Regions from separate parts of the Homo sapiens genome. Here region 2 is linked to region 1. The links are contacts of gene promoters, found by promoter capture Hi-C in human tissues and cell types (Jung and others, 2019). All regions are on one chromosome and are shown on one strand. The core of a region is centred on a gene start or on the middle of the fragment in contact, and the rest is flanking DNA. Distances in the headings are between cores, read along the strand shown. Region 1 holds the start of HSPB6 (heat shock protein family B (small) member 6). Region 2 has its middle 6.1 kb from the start of SDHAF1.

Evidence for each region. The method cuts DNA at HindIII sites, captures the fragments that hold promoters and counts their contacts. A contact is called where the count stands out against the background at its distance.
Region 2: a fragment that was not itself captured here is called in contact with the fragment with the promoter of HSPB6 in region 1 in 2 of the 25 tissues and cell types used here (dorsolateral prefrontal cortex and spleen).

The regions. Positions count from the first base shown.
Region 1 is chr19:35,754,242-35,759,495 of GRCh38, reverse strand. It overlaps HSPB6 (heat shock protein family B (small) member 6), which reads left to right and starts at 2,467. Exons shown (of 3, transcript NM_144617.3): 1 at 2,467-2,685; 2 at 3,602-3,724; 3 at 3,813-4,930. The coding sequence starts at 2,488. The coding sequence ends at 3,974. It overlaps PROSER3 (proline and serine rich 3), which reads right to left and starts at 1,320. Exons shown (of 11, transcript NM_001367856.1): 1 at 1,270-1,320; 2 at 26-122. The coding sequence starts at 1,280. It overlaps LIN37 (lin-37 DREAM MuvB core complex component), which reads right to left. Exons shown (of 9, transcript NM_019104.3): 8 at 5,177-5,250; 9 at 4,977-5,103. The coding sequence ends at 5,022. RefSeq lists enhancers at 976-1,035, 1,076-1,315, 1,644-2,215. The HindIII fragment of the contact is 17,144 bases long and covers 1-5,254 here.
Region 2 is chr19:35,986,501-35,991,754 of GRCh38, reverse strand. No RefSeq gene overlaps it. Among named protein-coding and RNA genes, the nearest start is that of SDHAF1, 6.1 kb to the left of the region's middle. RefSeq lists an enhancer at 4,753-4,812. The HindIII fragment of the contact is 5,281 bases long and covers 102-5,254 here.

The DNA.
Region 1 (5,254 bases), core at 1,218-3,717:
AGCACTCTTTGAGGGGTGTCCTCACCTTGGGACACCAGGTCTGGCTCTGGGATGGCCAGTAGTGGCTTCGACCCAGGGGCGCATCTCCAAAGGGACTATCTTGAATGGAGAAAACTGGCAGGCTGCAAGAGGAAAGTGGGGTTCAGGCAGCACGTGGTTTCGCCGCAGCCCTGGGGAGGGGGACATTAGAGGAGGGCAGAACCAGACAATTCCCATAGATTCCTGGAGGAGACGGACTGTCATTTCCATGAAGCACCGTTGCACATTCAGGATATCGACAGTGGAAGGGTGAGTCCTGGGAGCCCGCCCCTGGAGCAGTCTTAACAGGGAGCAACTCAGGAACTGACAGCCGGTGGTTCTCAACCCTGGATCCAGTCTAGGAGGGGCTTTTCAACGTTACAGGCGCGCGGTTCCCATTCCAGACCAACAGAATCAGAATATCTATTAGTGGGGCTGGGCCTCCGTGTCTTTTCCGCAGCGTCCCAGGTGATTGCGAAGTGGAGTTCAGGTTAAGAATCGCGGCTCGCCGGGCGTGGTGGCTCACGCCTGTAATCCCAGCACTTTGGGATTACACCGAGGCGGGTGGATCACTTGAGGTCAGGTGTTCGAGACCAGCCTTACTAACATGGCGAAACCCCGTCTCTACTAAAAATATAAAAAATTAGCCAGGCGCGGTGGCAGGTGCCTGTAGTCCCAGCTACCTGGGAGGCTGAGGCATGAGAATTGCTTTAACCCGGGGGCAGAGGTTGCAGTAGCCAAGATTGTGCCACTGCACTCCAGTCTGGGCCAACAGAGCGAGAGACTCTGTCTTAAAAAAAAAGAAAGAAAGAAAGAACCGCGGCTGGATTATATCACCGAGCATTTCCCATACATTCCTGGGGGACACGAAGGCAAAGGGTAGATGGACTACAAGCCCCAGGATCCACTGGGCTCCGCCTCCGCGAGAAAGTTCAAAGACAACGCCCAGGCGTGTCTGGGGGCCATTTCAAAATGAAGAAATTCAGATCTCAAGCCTTTCTTGGACACCTTTAGAGGCAATAATTCCTTGGGGCCCACTCAGAGAGGAACATAAGACTCTTAGGGGACCCCCGGGATGCTAACGGCTACGGCTGGAGAGGCCAACGGCTGTGGAGCATGTTGGGAATTGTAGTTCCAGTGCGGTGGAGCCCTAGCGACTCCAGACCGTATCCAGCCCGTCCTAGGCTGTGCTGCTCTCGCCGTTGGTCCTCCCCAGCCTCCTGTAGTCCCTGGAAGAGCGATCGGCCTCACCTGCGGTCCATCCCGCGGCTCCCTCCGCGCTTCCGGCCGCTCTGCTCCTTCACCCAACAGGCCCCGCGCGCATCTCCGTCGCTTAGCAACGCCCTATCAGCCCCGCCCCTCTCTGTGCCCGCGCCGGAGGCGAGCGGCCTCCAAGGCGACCAATGAAAGAGAGGAAACAGAAGTACCCGGAGGGAGGTGTTTCAGGATTGGCTGGGACGACTGCCTGCCCGACAGGGCGTGTTTGATTGGAGAACCTGCCGAGTGTAGCAGTAATTGGCAAGACCGTGCACCAATGGGAAGGATCTGAGGCTGGGCTTGCGGTTAGGAGGTGATCTAAAGTACCCTCGCTTAAAAGTCCCGCTTTTTAAGCGCCTTCTTGCTGCAGAAGTCCTGTCCCGACCCCGGTCTAACTACCATTCTTTCTGTTGCAGGGGCAGTGGGGCGGGTTGGGGGGGGGGCGCGCTCTGCCCTCTCTCTAACCGCTATTCCTCCATCAGTTGGGCCAATCAGTCCGTCCCAACGGTCATCTAACTTCTTTCTTGCTGCAGGAGCAGCTGGTTGCATCAGTTGCCAGGTCTGGGCTCCTGGCCGAGGTAGCGGGATCAAAATGAGCTATTTCCAGCCCCAGCGCGCGGCCCCCGGGGGGCCAGCCTGAACTGTTCATGCTCGCGCCCCCTGGCCTCTGCGCACCAGAGGCTGAGTCAGAGGCACAGAATTAGGCCCGGCCTGCCGGGGGACTGGGCCCAAGGTCTGGCTGAGGATAAGGGTAGGGAGGGCCTGTTCTATGTCCTCCTGACATCCTGGCGGGGCTACCGCATTCTCCAGGAATCTGCTCCTAAAGACCTCCATCTGCGTCATCCTCAGAGCTGCCAGGGGGGAGGCAGTGGATTAAAGGGACTGGAAACTCTTCCGTGGGCCTCTTGGGTCCTGGGCCCCAATCACCACGCTGTGCTCCCCACACCCGCAAGGCTCCCCCTCCTCAGCCTTAGTTTCCTCTTCTGGAAATTGGGGAATCTTCATGTCACCTTCTTGACAGCATTTGCCAGGCATCCAGCAGGCGCTTAATAAATGGCCAAGTCATTGTTTGGGTTTCTAAATAAGGCTCTCCTAATGGCCGGGTCTGGCCACGGTCCCAGTGTCCCTGGGCAGCCCTCCGAGGGGCCGGCACAGGGCGCACTATAAATGAGCGGCTGCGCACGCAGGGGCACTGCAACGCGGAGGAGCAGGATGGAGATCCCTGTGCCTGTGCAGCCGTCTTGGCTGCGCCGCGCCTCGGCCCCGTTGCCCGGACTTTCGGCGCCCGGACGCCTCTTTGACCAGCGCTTCGGCGAGGGGCTGCTGGAGGCCGAGCTGGCTGCGCTCTGCCCCACCACGCTCGCCCCCTACTACCTGCGCGCACCCAGCGTGGCGCTGCCCGTCGCCCAGGTGCCAGGCCTGGGGAGGGGTGAACTCGACCACTTCCATTGCCAGGGGTCTGGGGCAGCCTGGGGTGGGAACATGTGAGAGAATGTTCGTTGGCCTTGGGCGGGGTGGAGAGTCCGCAGCTCCGAAGGGCTTCCGGAGTCAATGGGAATCTGAGGCCCGCACACTGCAGCGGGTGGGAGGTCCCCGTCGCTCTTAGGTGGGGGGCGGGGTGGGGGGCTCTCAGCTCTCCAGAGAATGGAAGGCCTGGGTCACTCTAAGGGGAGTCTTGCTTACTCTGAAGGAGGCTGGTGATCCGGGAAATCTGGGGAAAAGGAGGCGGGCAGTGACTCCTGAGGGGAAGGAATGTTCTTAGTCTCGGGGAAGAGTTGAGAGACTGTGTGCGGTGGCCCGATATCTCCAGAAGAGGAGGGGAGAGGGCCCTGCGACTTGAGGAAGGGTTCCCGGCCACTCTGAAGTGGGGGAAGGCTACCAGTAGCTGCCGAGGTCCCGTGACTCGAGTGGGAGAGTAGGCAGAGGACCCTGGAGACGGGGAAAGGGGCATCTTGGCGAGTTTGGCGGGGCTGGCGGAGAAGGGACCCGGGGCTCTGAGGAGGGAGCTGGGGAATCAGTGCCCTGGGGGGCACGATGACTTCGGATTCGCTGACACCGGGGGAGGGCAGAGGTTCCTGACCTTGCAGGGGAAGGGAGCCTCATCACTGCGGGGGAGAGGGCAATCCCAGATATTACAGGGGGAGGGCGTATCCCTGTTGTTCAGGGTGAAGAGGTCCTGGGTGACTCCCAGTAGGAGAGCTGACTGCTCAACTCCGGAGGCCAGAGTGAGCCGCGGCACGGAACCGACGGGGGTGGGGTCTCCCTGGGTGGGTCCTGGAGCCTGGCCCAGCCCAATGACAGTCCCGCCCGCGCCCGCTGCGCTCAGGTGCCGACGGACCCCGGCCACTTTTCGGTGCTGCTAGACGTGAAGCACTTCTCGCCGGAGGAAATTGCTGTCAAGGTGGTGGGCGAACACGTGGAGGTGCACGCGCGCCACGAGGAGCGCCCGGTGAGCCGCGGCGTGGGGCGGGGCTGGAGCGGGTACGCTCGCCGCCGGGCCGGAGGGGCGGGGCCGCTCAAGCCTCCCTCCCCTCCAGGATGAGCACGGATTCGTCGCGCGCGAGTTCCACCGTCGCTACCGCCTGCCGCCTGGCGTGGATCCGGCTGCCGTGACGTCCGCGCTGTCCCCCGAGGGCGTCCTGTCCATCCAGGCCGCACCAGCGTCGGCCCAGGCCCCACCGCCAGCCGCAGCCAAGTAGGAGGGGGCTGGGCCGCGCCCGCACCCCGGGAGCCTCCTCAGGCTCCCTCTATTAAAGCCGATCTGACTCCGCCCAGCCAGATGTCCCGAGTGCGCCAAGGACTGTCCTCTCACCCACTCCTGGATTCTGCCCTGACCTCCATCCTGGACACTGCCTTGATAACATAGACCCTTCCACTGACACCCTCGCTCTCACACCCCCTCCAGCTTTCCGACCCCACACCGACAACTCCCCGGCTTCCAGACCCTACCAGCACTACCCTAACCCTCAGCCGACAGTCTCAGCCCCACCGACCCACTTTCTTGGCATATAGCCCCACTTAAGACCCCTCCTCTACTTCCTTCTGAGTCCTCTACAAAGACATCCGGGTACTACATTTCCATCCCTTCCCTATTTTGACACCAAATTATGGTGTAGACAGCCCTCCCCCAACCCCAGGCCAGTCAGGCACAATCCCCCCACCCCCCAAACGTCCTGGACTGCACAGACCTCCCACTCCAGACCATCCAGGCCTGGTTCCCAAGACCCGATCCTTCCCCTGCAACCAGACAGTCTACAACTGCCCCCTCCAGCCCATTTTCTGCCGTGAAACCCCAGCCAGCCACACCAGACTCTGGAACCCTTTTTCGACTGCCCCAACTCTTGGACACCAGGCCAACTAGAACACCCAACACCAAACTGTACAGACTCTCCCACCCCAACCTCCCCAGACTCTGCACGGATGTCCTAGGCCCCCTCCCCAACTCTAACCAGACCCCATCCCCCTAAGTCCCTTTGTCTTGACCCCCAAGTCTTCAACCAGATATCCTCGGCAACCCACCTCCCACCCTCCTCCTCTTCTCCTTCAAGACCCAACTGAGCACCCGCTCTGATTCCCCACAGCCTTTCTCCCTGCCACCACTCCCTTAGTCTTTCCCAGGCTTACTCTCCCAATAAATGTGCTAGAGCTCTGCCAACTGCTTTGTGCCTGGGCCAGGAAGGAGGGACCGGAGCAGACACCAGTGTGGAGCTGGGGGATGTTTACTGGTGTGGGGGGACCTGGGAACATCACTGTCGTTCGTACATCTCTCGTAGGATCTTCATGCTTTCTGAGTAACGAAGCTGGTTCCGATGAGAGGCCTCCTTCCACCTGGGGAGGCAGAGGGGAGACTCAGCAGTTGCAAAGGGCCCTACGAGGGGCAAGCAGGCTGGGGGACGCTCACCTCTGGCGGATGCGTTTCCAGCGCTGCATGTTGCGATAGATGAGTGTGGAGGGTGAGGGCTCGGGCTCAGAGGGCTGC
Region 2 (5,254 bases), core at 1,493-3,992, 230 kb before region 1:
CTGAGGTTGGGAGGATTGCTTGCACCCAGGAGTTCAGGACCAGCCGGGACAACACAACAAGACCTTGTCTCTACAAAAAAAAAAAAAAAAAAAAAAAAAAAAAAAATTGGCCAGGCATGGTGGCACATAACTGTAGTCCTAGCTACTTGGGAGGCTGAGGTGTCGGGATTGCTTGAGTCCAGGAGGTCAAGGCTGTAGTGAGCTATGATCACGCCACTGCATTCCAGCCTGGGTGACAGAGTGAGACCCTCTCTCTAAAAACAAACAAAAAGCTTAAGCCACTGTAATTTTGAGCTTTTGTTCTACCATATGGACCTGGAGCCTAATTACTATAGAAGCTAACGCAGAAAAAGGAAAAGGCGAGGATGAAAGATGGAAAGAAACTAAGTTCTTAGCAACATCATTTGAGTCCTTGAACCAGCCAGACCTGAAGGCCTCATCTTTACAGATAAGTAAAAGCAGACAAATTCTCGTCTGTATTTAAGACAGCTGGCATCATTTTCTGTCATTTACAACTGAAAATGCTGACTGATATACTGGTGATTCAGGGAACATCTTATGATGAGGTTTGGGAGACTTGTCCTCACCTTCCAGGCCTGGAGATCCCTCTCACCAGAAGGTAGCATTCATTGTGGAAGCAGCCACAGTGGTCCTGGGACACACAGTCTGTGCCATCAATGGTGAGGCCACGTTCATAGCTCTCATAGCATCGGGAGGAACAGTGAGCGGGGTTGGCAGGCAGGACACACCCCAAATCATAGGTCTGTGCACAGATGCTGTAATGGCCTTGGGGTGGGCAGGTCTGTGCTGCAGGCAGTTGGCAAAGATAAATGCCTAGGGCTCAAATTTCTTTTCTTCTTCTTCCTTCTTCTTCCTCCTTCTTCCTCCTTCTTCCTCCTTCTTCCTCCTTCTTCCTCCTTCTTCCTCCTTCCTCCTTCCTCCTCCTTCTCCTAGTCCTTCTCCTCCTCCGTCTTCTTCTTCTTCCTTCTTTTTCCTTCTTCCTTCTTCTTCCTTCTTTTCCCTTCTTCCTTCTTCTTCCTTCTTCCTTTCTTCTTCTTCTTTTTTTTTTTGAGATGGAGTCTCCCTCTGTCTCCCAGGCTCGAGTGCAGTGGTGTGATCTCCATTCACTGCAACCTCCACCTCCAGGTTCAAGCAATTCTCCACCCTCAGCCTCTCAAGTAGCTGGGACTACAGGTGTGTGCCACCACACCCGGCTAATTTTTGTATTTTTAGTAGAGACACTGTTTTACTATGTTGGCCAGGCTGGTTTTGAACTCCTGACCTCAGGTGATCCACCCACCTCAGCCTCCCAAAGTGCTGGGATTACAGGCAGGAACCATCGCGCCCAGCCTCAAATTCCTCTTTCCAATCTCATCGCCTCTGCCCCTAGTCAGCCTGGCTTCCCATTGGTATTTCCCCACCTCCACACCTTTGTAGCTGCAGTTCCCTTTCCCTTGGATCCTCTTCCCACACATTCTCCTCCACCAATTCCACCTATGCTAGGAATTCTTCCTGGACTCCCACCAGGGGAAGGGGCTCTTCCAGCCAACCCATAGTCTGCCCTGCCTGCACCCCAGACCAAGCCAGAGCACTTATGGCAATGCTTGGGGCCCCTCCAGGGCATCACAGGGTTCCCAGGCTCCTGGCTGCTGCAGTATGGCCTGTGAGAGTGTCACAGAGACCACGGTGCTGGCCACTGGGATGACACGCATCCTGCAGGCATATACTAAGGAAGGGCTTGTTGATGTGGGCCACACAGTGGTTAAAGGGGCCATCCGGCACATGCAGGAGGCCACACAGTTTGGGAGCTTTGAAGATCTGGGCAAGTCATGTGGGCAGCTGACATGAAAGCCATGGTTGGGCTGGGTCAGTGGGCAGTGGATAGTGATCAGGCCCTTGGACCAGGACACGGTATCCAGAGGCAGGTCAAGTAGGCCAACATTGCCTCCAAAGGACCCATGGAGCCCCGCCAGCTCGCCTTAGAATTCAGAAGGCACCATGAGCTTCCCCAGGTGTACATGAGATACAGCCCACAGGCCATGTGCACCATGGCATGGTGGCCCTCCAAGGCGGCCAACCCCAGCCCCCTGGCAGTGCCCAGGGCAGCCAGTAGTGCTCACCATCCACCTGCAGGGGAGGTAAGGGGTCAGGACTGGGGCTGAGGAGGCTGAACCTGCTCCCATGCCTCCCTGAAACCTGGATGTCCCTCCTCATTGCGCCACAAATGAGGGTGAGACTTGGACAAGGGACTTAGCCTTTCTGAACTTCAGTTTCTGTGTTTGTAACATGGAAGGACAAGAGTACCTACTTCAGGCTGGGTGCGGTGGCTCATGCCTGTAATCCCAGCACTTTGGGAGGTTGAGGTGGGCGGGTCACTTGAGGCCAGGAGTTCGAGACCATCTTGGCCAACATGAAGAAACCCCATCTCTACTAAAAACTCAAAAATTAGCCAGGTGTGGTGGTGCAGGCCTGTAGTCCCAGCTGCTCAGGAGGCTGAGGCAGAAGAATCGCTTGAACCTGGGAGGCAGAGGTTGCAGTGAGCCAAGATGGTGCCATTGCACTGCCTGGGCGACAGACTGAGACTCCATCTCAAAAAAAAAAAAAAGAGTACCTATGCTAGGCATATGGTAAGTGCTTCATGACCCCTGCTAAGATCGGCCAATGCCAACCAACCCACAGACACATGAGTTAGGAAGCTGCCTGGGGTTAAGTCACTAAGATTTTGAGGTTGTTTGTTATGCAGCATTAGCTGACTGATACAGTTGCAATAAGGATTAGATGAGATGGTTCATGAAAATTCCTCAGAACAGTGCTGAGCACATGAAAAGCACTAAATAAAACACTAAATTGGCCGGGCATGTTGGCTCACATCTGTAATCCCAGCACTTTGGGAGGCTAAGGCAGGAGGATCCCTTGAGCCCAGAAGTTTGAGACCAGCCTGAGCAACATACTGAGACCCCATCTCTACAAAAATTAGGATGGCATGGTGGGGCATGCCTGTAGTCACAGCTACTCCAGAAGCTGAAGCGGGGGGATCACTTGAGCCCAGGAATTTGGGGCTGCAGTGAGCTGTGATCACATGACTATGCTCCAGCCTGGGTGACAGAGTAACATTCTGTCTCCAAAAACAAAACAAAACAAAAACCAACCAAACAAAAAACATCATAGCCAGTCACTAGCACATTGGTAATATGTGTTCAACATTCTAGGTGAGGAAAGGAATGACTTACCAAAGTATCAATTCCACCTTCTCTCTATTGCTTAAATGATCACTTATCTCTGCTTTGTAACCATCAAGAGTCTAGATTACCATCATTCATTTCCCGACCCTGCTAATAACCTGTTACCTTTTTTTTTTTTTTTTTTTTGAGACAGAGTCTCACTCTGTCACCTAGGCTGGAGTGCAGTGGCGCAATCTTGGCTCACTGCAACCTCCGCCTCCTAGGTTCAAGCAGTTCTCTGCCTCAGCCTCCCAAGTAGCTGGGGTTACAGGCACGCACCACCATGGCCAGCTAATTTTTGTATTTTTAGTAGAGACGGGGTTTCACCATCTTGGCCAGTCTGGTCTTGAATGCCTGACCTCGTGATCCACCTGCCTTGGCCTCCCAAAGTGCTGGGATTACAGGCGTGGGCCACCGCACCAGGCCATAACCCTTTATCTTGTCTCTACTCAGTCATGCCTGTCCTTCCTATACTCCATCCCCACCATCTAGCTGACTCTGCTAAACACCCTTATCTTTTTTTTTGTCTTTTTTCTTTTTTCTTATTTTTTTTAGACAGACTCTTGCTCTGTTGCCCAGGCTGGAGTGCAGTGGCACGATCTCGGCTCACTGCAACCTCCACCTCCTGGGCTCAAGCAATTCTCCTGCCTCAGCCTCCTGAATAGCTGGTACTACAGGCATGCACCACCACTTCCGGCTAATTTTTGTGTTTTTAATAGAGACAGGGTTTCACCATGTTGGCCCAGGCTGTCCTCGAACTCCTGACCTCAAGTGATTTGCCCGCCTCGGCCTCCCAAAGGGTTGGGATCACTGGAGTGAGCCACCGTGCCTGGCCTAAACACCCTTATCTTTTAAAGACATACACTTTTTAATTTTATTTAATTCTTTTAGAGACGAGGTCTGGCTCTGTTGCCTAGGCTGGAGTGCAGTGGCGCCACCATGGCTCACTGCAGCCTCGACCTCCTGGGCTTAAGGATCTTCCTACCTCAGTCTCTTGAGCAGCTGGGAACACAGGCGCGCACCACCCCCCCCCCCCCCCGCCTAATTTTTAATTTATTTTTTTGAGCCCGGGAATGGTGCGGGCCAGCAAGGGAGAGCACAGGGGCGGAGCGCGGGGGCGGGGGCCGCAGGGGCAGGGTACCAGACGGTGCCCAGCGGTGGGTGTCCGCCTGCAAGGAAGCAGCCGCATTCGGCTGCGGGCACTCAGAGGCGCCGCTCAGCGGGAAGCCCTGGCCGCATACTCAGCGCTCCCGGCAGGGCTGTCACCCGCGCATGTGGCCAGGTAGCGCGCAGCTCAGCGCGAACGCAGCGGGCACCGCAAAGCTGGGGCGGGCCGCGGGGGTGGGAGGGTCAGGGACAGAGACAGAGAGAGGTGGGGGAGACATAGCCAGGGTCGGATGGGGGAGGCGGAGATGGAGGATGCCCGCAGAGAGCAGCACGGGTGTGCCCGGGGAAGAAACAACGAGGAACCGAGAGAAGGGGAACGGGAACAGGGGAAGGGGCGGGGCAGAGGGAGGTCCAGAAAGAGAGACATGCAGAGAGCCAGCGGCACGGAGGAGACATAGAGACACCGAAAAAAGAGGCATAAAAGACAGAAAGACCTTGTTAATCAGGCCGGGCGCTGTGGCTCACGCCTGTAATCCCAGCACTTTAAGAGGCTGAGGAGGGAGAGCCGCTTGCGCCCAAGGATTCGAGGCAAGCTTGGGCAACATAGTGAGACCCCTGTCTCTATAAAAATTGTTAAAAATTTTAAAAAGACCTTGTTAATCAAACCAGACCAATCAAATCAAGTCATACCCCTGCCTGTCTTGCCGCATCTAATCTGGTCCTAACTGTTCTCCAGTACCCACCCTTCCTCGCCTAGCCCCACTGCCCAGGCCTGAACTTCTGTTGGTCCTGACGCGACCGTCCCCTGGTGGCCCATGTCAGGGCTCTTCAGAGCTTACCCCTCTCTCGAAAGCACACTCGTGACAGAAGGCAGACTCCCAGAGCCCTGCAAGCCACAGTGTAGGCAGCCAGGGCCCAGTATATGG